Regions from separate parts of the Homo sapiens genome. Here region 1 is linked to region 2. The links are contacts of gene promoters, found by promoter capture Hi-C in human tissues and cell types (Jung and others, 2019). All regions are on one chromosome and are shown on one strand. Each heading gives the region's core, a stretch centred on a gene start or on the middle of the fragment in contact. The rest is flanking DNA. Distances are from core to core; before and after follow the strand shown. Region 1 holds the start of PDCL3 (phosducin like 3). Region 2 holds the start of MGAT4A (alpha-1,3-mannosyl-glycoprotein 4-beta-N-acetylglucosaminyltransferase A).

The links. The method cuts DNA at HindIII sites, captures the fragments that hold promoters and counts their contacts. A contact is called where the count stands out against the background at its distance.
Region 1: a contact is called between the fragment with the promoter of PDCL3 here and the fragment with the promoter of MGAT4A in region 2, in 1 of the 25 tissues and cell types used here (mesenchymal stem cells).

What each region holds. Positions count from the first base shown.
Region 1 is chr2:100,560,772-100,564,375 of GRCh38, forward strand. PDCL3 (phosducin like 3) reads left to right here and starts at 2,222. Exons shown (of 6, transcript NM_024065.5): 1 at 2,222-2,302. The coding sequence starts at 2,297. RefSeq lists an enhancer at 967-1,763 and a silencer at 2,209-2,548. The HindIII fragment of the contact is 15,730 bases long and covers 122-3,604 here.
Region 2 is chr2:98,729,059-98,732,641 of GRCh38, forward strand. It overlaps MGAT4A (alpha-1,3-mannosyl-glycoprotein 4-beta-N-acetylglucosaminyltransferase A), which reads right to left and starts at 2,074. Exons shown (of 16, transcript NM_012214.3): 1 at 1,990-2,074. It overlaps LOC107985922 (a long non-coding RNA gene), which reads left to right and starts at 2,223. Exons shown (of 2, transcript XR_007087150.1): 1 at 2,223-2,637. RefSeq lists silencers at 2,082-2,411, 2,432-2,621, 2,728-3,022. The HindIII fragment of the contact is 6,529 bases long and covers 1-3,583 here.

The DNA.
Region 1 (3,604 bases), core at 972-3,471, 1.8 Mb after region 2:
CCCTGTCTCTACTAAAAATACAAAACTTAGCCCGGCGTGGTGGTGCATGCCTGTAATCCCACGTACTTGGGAGGCTGAGGCAGGAGAATCACTTGAACCCAGGAGGGGGAGGCTGCAGTGAGCTGAGATCTTGCCATTGCACTCCAGGGTGGGGAACAAAGAGAGACTCTCAAAAAAACAAAACAAGGCCAGGTGCGGTGGCTCACACCTTTAATCCCAGCACTTTGGGAGGCCAAGGCAGGTGGATCACCTGAGGTCAGGAGTTCGAGACCAGCCTGGCTAACACAGTGAAACCCCGTCTCTACTACAAATACAAAAAAAAAAAATTAGCCAGGCGTGGTGGCGCGCACCTGTAATCCCAGCTATTCGGAAGCTGAGGCAGGAGAATCGCTTGAACCCAGGAGGTGGAAATTGCAGTGAGCCGAGATCACGCCATTGCACTCCAGCTTGGGCAACAAGAGTGAAACTCCATCTCAAAAAAAAGAAAGAAAAAAGAAAGCTTTCAGGACACCAGGCCATTTCCTGGGTCTGTTGTCTTAGGTCTGTTTGGTAAATATTCTGTGACTAAGCATGCGTAACCTTCTGGGAATACAACCCAGTAGGTCTCAGCCTCCTTTTCCCCATCCCCTATTCAGGATGGATTGGCTTTGGTTAGAATGCCTCTGACCGGATCATGTGGGGAAGAGCAACTGTAGAATAGCTGAGTCCTGGAAAACAGGCCTCAGGGAACAGCAAAGGCTGGGGATGAGGAAAGGACAAAACACCACCTGCTCTGTTGCTGTGCAGGACTGAGCAAGAAGCACAGGATCAAACTCAAAGTTAGTTCCAGTCCTGATTTTGGTGGTAAGACCCAAGGAAAATTCATTAACAAACATTGTGCTGCCAGATACATTAATAAATCCCTAAAAGGGCCTGTAATTCAGTTGAAATGAGTGAGAAAAATCTTAAGGATCCTTATAAATTAAATAAAAACTCCTTGCTCTCAAGCAATCATTTGATTCACTCTATATCAACGACTGTGCACTTTAGCATCACCTGAGGATCTTTAAGAAAGTATCTGTGCTAGGCCTCATTTCCAAGGATTTAATTTGTCTGGGGATGGAGCCCCAGGACATTCCTAGTTTTTGAGGGCTTCCAGGTGATTCTAATGCATAGCCACGGTTGGAAGCCCTGCGCCTATCTCACAGGTGTGTGGGTCTCTACTCTCTGTGTCCGCTTAGTTGCCAGGAGGCAGCAAGTTAGCCCACGTGTGCAAGATGCTTCCTTCCATACCAGGTAGGAATATTGCTCTCTTAAACTTGGAGTGTGCCTGGGCAGAAGCTCTGGAGCCCAATACCTGCATTTTACAAGTCAGATTGCTGCTTTTTGCTCAGTGCCTGTGTGCCTGCATACATGGGTCTCCTGATACTCAGGCACGGCAGATGACTTTCACCTTTGTTTTAGTGTTTTGCTCACTGCTGCATCTGCAGAGCCTAGAATGGTGCCTGGTACACAGCAGGCTCTCAATGTCTTATTAATGAGTTGCCTTTTCCAAGGCTGAAGTGATCGTGGGTGAATTCCAGAAGACCCTGCATCATTTTTATTTATTTATTTATTTAAGACGGAGTCTCGCTCTGTAACCCAGGCTGGAGTGCAGTGGAGAGATCTCAGCTCACTGCAAGCTCCGCCTCCCCCGTTCAAGCAATTCTTCTGCCTCAGCCTCCAGAGTAGCTGGGATTACAGGCAACCACCACTACGCCCGGCTAATTTTTTTGTATTTTTAGTAGAGACGGGGTTTCACCATGTTGGCCAGGCTGATCTCGAACTCCTGACCTCAAGTGATCCGCCCGCCTCGGCCTGGGATCACAGGCGTGTGCCACCGCGCCCGGCCTAGAGGCAATTTTCTATTTCTGACTTGTTAGGCTAGTCAGAGCGAGACGTCTTTACAGGTTTGGGCCGGCAGCTGGAAAAGGCACACGGCCCCGGGCTCCTCCTCCACCCAGCCCCACCCCTCCTCCGCTGAAGACCAGCCCTAATAAGGCAGCCACCAGAATTAGAACCAGGTCAAGTGCACTCCGAGCAGGACAGTAGGCAGATCCTATCTGGCGCATGCGAACGCTTCTGTGCCAGTTCCTTGAAGAGCAGGCGCAGACTCAAGGCTGTTGCTTCCGCCCTTACTCCCCGCCGCTCGTCCCTGGGCGGGGCGAAGGCTGGGCTGGGGGAAGAGGCGTGGCGGCGCTGTGCGCGTGCACAAAAGAGAGCTGAGGGGCGGGGGCGCTGCGGCACAGCTGGTTTGAGCAACTGAACTGGAAACAAGATGCAGGTGAGCTAGGACGGGTCTCGGGTCTGGGGGCTGCGGCCCGTTCCTTTGTCTCGTTAGGCCCGGGCGGGCAGTGGACGCCCGCCCTGGGGGAAGCTCCGGCGCCGCAGGCACGAGGGAGGCCCGGCGCGTCCAGGCCCTGCGCAGGCGCAGTGCGGGAGGCGGGCGTGGTCCCACCAGGACCCACGGCCTGGGCGTCCCCGCCTCGGTGTGCCGGGTCCCCCAAACCTCGTCCTCCGGGACTATGTCTTCTCGCGGTCTCTACCCACCCGGGCCTGTGAAGGTCTTGCCGGATCCCGCCTAACAAAAGTTACCTCCTCTCCTGAACTCCCCTAAGGCACACCTGGGCAGAGGTGTTAGGAAGCGGAGGGTCCGGCCTGGGGTCTTCCGCACGTAAAGCAGCGCCACAGCCGGTGTTCCTGGCTCCACTGAGAGCCAGGTGAGGGCTTAGTTACACCCTCTTCCCCCGAGCCCTGGGATCCGCTTGGGGCGTGTTCCCTATCTGACCGCTCGGGTTCCAGAGCTCCCCGCGAGGGTCCCTCTGTTTCGTCCTTTTTTTTTTTTTTATTAAAATAGGTAAAATAAATTATTTTTCTGTAGCTGCAATTTACTAGCGGAATTTGGTTAAAGCCTAAGGAGAATGAATGAAAACACCATGGAAATGGGCACTATTGTGGGTGAAAACCTATGCCAACTAAATTTTGTCACTGTCCAAAGATCCCGCAGTGGTCAGAAATTCTAATCTCTGCTTAGTGGCAGATGGAGAGGAGAGGGTGCGGGTTTTGCTGGGGAGGGAGGCATTAGGGGCTGGAGGGGAGGGCGTGTCTGCCAGGAGCCAGACACTGTTTTTTTTTTTTTTGAGACCGGGTCTTGCTCTGTTGCCCAGGCTGGAGTGCAGTGGCTCTGTCACAGCTCACTGCAACCTCGACCTCCCGGGGCTAAGCCATCCTCCCTTGTCAGCCTCCGGAGTAGCTGGGACCACAGGCGTGCACCCACCACTCTGGGCTAATTTTTTGTGCAGATGGGGTCTCCCTATGTTGCCCAGCCTCAGCCTCCCAAAGTGTTGGGATTACAGGATGAGCCACCGCACCTGGCCTAGACACTCTTAAATGGTGAAGTGGTAGCTTGAGGGCTGCCCTGGCCTCCTTTGCATTCCCTGTCCTTCAGGTCCCTTGAGGCCTTCCCTGACCACCCTGTAGAAAGGATTCTGCTCTTTTTGTTTGTTTGTTTGTTTGTTTCTTTTTGAGACAGAGTCTTGCTCTGTCGCCCAGGCTGGAGTGCAGTGGCGCGACCTCGGCTCACTGC
Region 2 (3,583 bases), core at 824-3,323:
TTACTAAATACAAATAAAGCTTGTAAAAACATTCCGTAGAAATGCATAGAGACAAGTAAATGAACTCTAAAACCAAAGTAAACTATTGATATACTACCCCTAATATATGAAAAAAAAAAAATACTGGATCCAGTAAGTTATGAAACTCTGAAGATACTTACAATAAATTCTACTAGCAAATAAGCCCTGAAATTTTGCAAGAAAAATATGCGTGTTTTACTCAGTAAGAATGTAGTCATACATTTTTAATTAGGGTTTCCCAGCTAATAAGTTTAACTGCACGGCACAAGTGAAGAAACTCTTCGGACAAGAGTAAAACCAAGGATCTACTCACTCTTCAATTATGAGACATAATTCACAGGCTGGCTTGTAAGACACAGGTGACCCACATTTTTATTAGTGTCCACATTTGCAAAAATTTTAATCTAGCCCCTTAATATTCTCGGAGACTATAATCTAACACGTTTGAATCTTTAACAACAACAAAAAAAGGTAGTGGCTAAAATTGCTAGTCATTTCTCCACCCTCCCAAAGGTGAATGGAACTTTCAACTCTAGACATCAGACTGTTTTGTTAGCAATCCTTTAAGGGCTTCAGTCTTCATTTTATTATTGGATACAAAACCTTTACTTATTTTAAAGTGTTCTCTGAAATACTCAATATAGTCCACGGCTGAGAACACTTTGCCGAACGTTTGGCATCTTCCTTAATCAGCATCCCACAGACAGGGTAGAGGTGACTTAAGAATGAAAGGCACAATAATCCCTGATATCTGGAATCAATAAAATCCATGACGTAAGCCTATATAACTTTACACACCACAATTGTGGCAAAATTCATTTATTTGCCATTTATAAACGGGTCAGTAGTTTTCTTTAATACAGCTTACGTAATGTCATCGCCCAGTGCGTTTTCGGGTTTACACGTGTGGGTTAAAGAAATCTATGTCAAGATAACCTGTTCATCAAACTGTTTTTTAAACATTCAGAAAAAGAAACATAAACCACAAAACGCATATTTTTATTCTAAATTTACAGTCTACGTTCCAACGAACGACTGTCATTATCTTTTATCAAATAATCTGTCCAACAGCAAAAGCACAACAGCAAAATACGTGGAAAGCATTCAAAGCATACATTGTGCCTGCTTCTATTTTCCAATGCGGAATGTAGGCAATGAAACCGCTCCAGAGAAACACACTGTTGCGAGGAATAAAGGCGGGTGTGCAAGTGGCTCGACTGCCAGCTCAGAAAAGCTCGCCTCCGAGATGTCACCTGGCACACTTGGTGGAGTCACCGAGACCCAGCCTCAGGGTCCTACTGCAGCTTCCTCATTACGGAGAGAGCTGAGGCCTGGGGAAACGGGGGCTGCTCTTTCACGCGGGCCCCGCAGCCCTTCACTTTGTGTGAAAATTCCCTGCGAAGGCTGCACGGCCGGTCCCCTCGGGAGCAGCCCCTGCCCCTGCGCCTCGGACCGTCCGGCCCCGCCCACCTGCCCCGCGGCCCCCGCGAAAGCGCCGACTCCCGCGCAGCCCCCGGGTCCCACAGGCAGCTGTCCCTCCCCCTCCGCACCCCCCGGATCAGCACTTTGCTCCACTTTCCCCCAAAGTCGCCGAGCCCCGCCACGCCGGGGAGCGCCAGGAACGCACCAGGCGCCGAGCCGGCCGCAGAGAGGGCGCGCGACCCCGAGGGGTGCGCGGTGCGGGGCAGGGACGCTGGGAGGACGGCCCGGCCCGCGCCCCGCCGCCCGCCCCCGAGGCCCAGCCGCTCCCGGAGCCGGCCCCGCGCCCAGAGGCGCCAACAGCTCCCCCGCACAGAGCTCCGGCCGGGCCGCGGCGCAGTAGGCTCCTTTACCAGCAGGTGGATCTCCCGCAGCCCGGGGCCGCCAGCCCGGCCGCCGGCGCCGCCCCCAACTCCCGCGCCCTCCGCGCAGCCGCCCCGCGCCCCCTCCCGCCCCCGCGCGCCGCCGCTGCCGCCGCGAGCCCCTCACCCGCCGCTGGCGTCGCCGTGCTCCCGCGGCTGCCGGCGGAGCTGCTGTAGCCGCCGCCGCCGCTGCCGCCGCCGCTGCGGGCCGCCCCGCCCGCCCCGCCGGCTCCGCCCCCGCCGCTGGAGCGCCCGCCCCGCCCCGCCCCGCCGGGCCGCCCCGACCCCGCCAGCCATTGGCCGGCCCCGCGGGCCCCGCGCCCCGCGCCCCGCGCCCCACCAGTGGCCCGCGCGACTGTCACTTAGGGGCGCCGCCACGCAGCCTGCGGAGCGTTCGGGAGGCTGGCCCGGCTCATCGGTGTCACGGCGAGGTCCGGAGCGGAGCCGCGGTCTCGGGTCCCAGCTCTGGGCGCCGGCCTGCTCCCCGCCGCCCCGCTGCCACATCTGGCTGAGATCCTCCCGGCGCGTGCAGGGACCGCTCCGGCGGCCAACAAAGGCCCGGGCGAGCCCTCGGCCTGCGCCTCGGCGCGCGACCCGACCACCCGGGGCTGCCCCAGCTCCCAGGCGCCTGCCTGCCTCGACCCGGCCCCTTCCCAGCGGCGCGCCCCGCTCCGGGCCGCCCAAACTGGGCGGCCTCCCCGGGGACAGGTCCCGGGCCCAGCCCCACAGGAGCTCCCGAGGCCCCGCGGACGGTCGCGACAGCCCCAACTTCCCGGTGAGAACCCCGCGAATCGGCCAGAAGGGCTGATTTCAGCAACTGGGAAGGAGAAAAACAACTAGGGTTTCAACGCACATCGTTGGGTGCTAATGCCCCTGATTTTCCACTATGCCCCGTTTTCTTGAACCCCATGTCCTTATCTGTCGCCGTTTCACAAGGTTAGAGGTTAACTTCAAAGGCAAAAAACTGACTCGTTTGTAGAAAGCCTGGGTGGTCTGTCCCTGTTTTTCATAGTATCCATAGGACTTGTGCTAACAGTAACTACCCCTGGGTACGTCCTCTTTTGAATACTTAACTGTATAGCAGGCAACCGTATAGCAGGCATGGGTGTTAGATCGTTTATTGCATATCTCATGTTTTAAATTTATTCCCCATTTTTCATAAGAGGAAACTAGCTGAGAGGTGAAAGGGCTTGCCCAAGGTCACACAGCTGGTAATGGTTCAAAAACAAGGGATGTGTTAACTTTATTGCCGCAATAATCCTTACAGCAATCCTACCGAGTAACCTGTAAGGGAATTGAGGGGCCAAAGATCAAGGAGGCAGCCTTGTTCCTGCCAAACTCCCAAAGTAATAAGTAGATTCTTTTCAGAAAACAGTAATTTCAATAATCGAAAACTCTTAAGAGGCATCAATCAGAACAGGGTCCCCTCCCCACCTCCGATAAATTCCATTATTTTTATCTCAAGATAAGAATAATTAATAATCAGCTAGAACATGCATGGAGTTATCAGCCTTCCCATGTTGAGGTTTCTCCATGACGGCTAATTTAAAACTTCAGGAAGAGACACGTAACATCCCTGCTCCCATAGTCTCTTACTAGTTTAGGGGAACCATACCAAAAGATCTGTCCACTGCCCAGCACTGTGGACACAACTTGGGGGATCACAGCCATGATATCCAATGACAGCTCTTCCCTCTACTTTGAGTGTGTTTTCTCTCTAC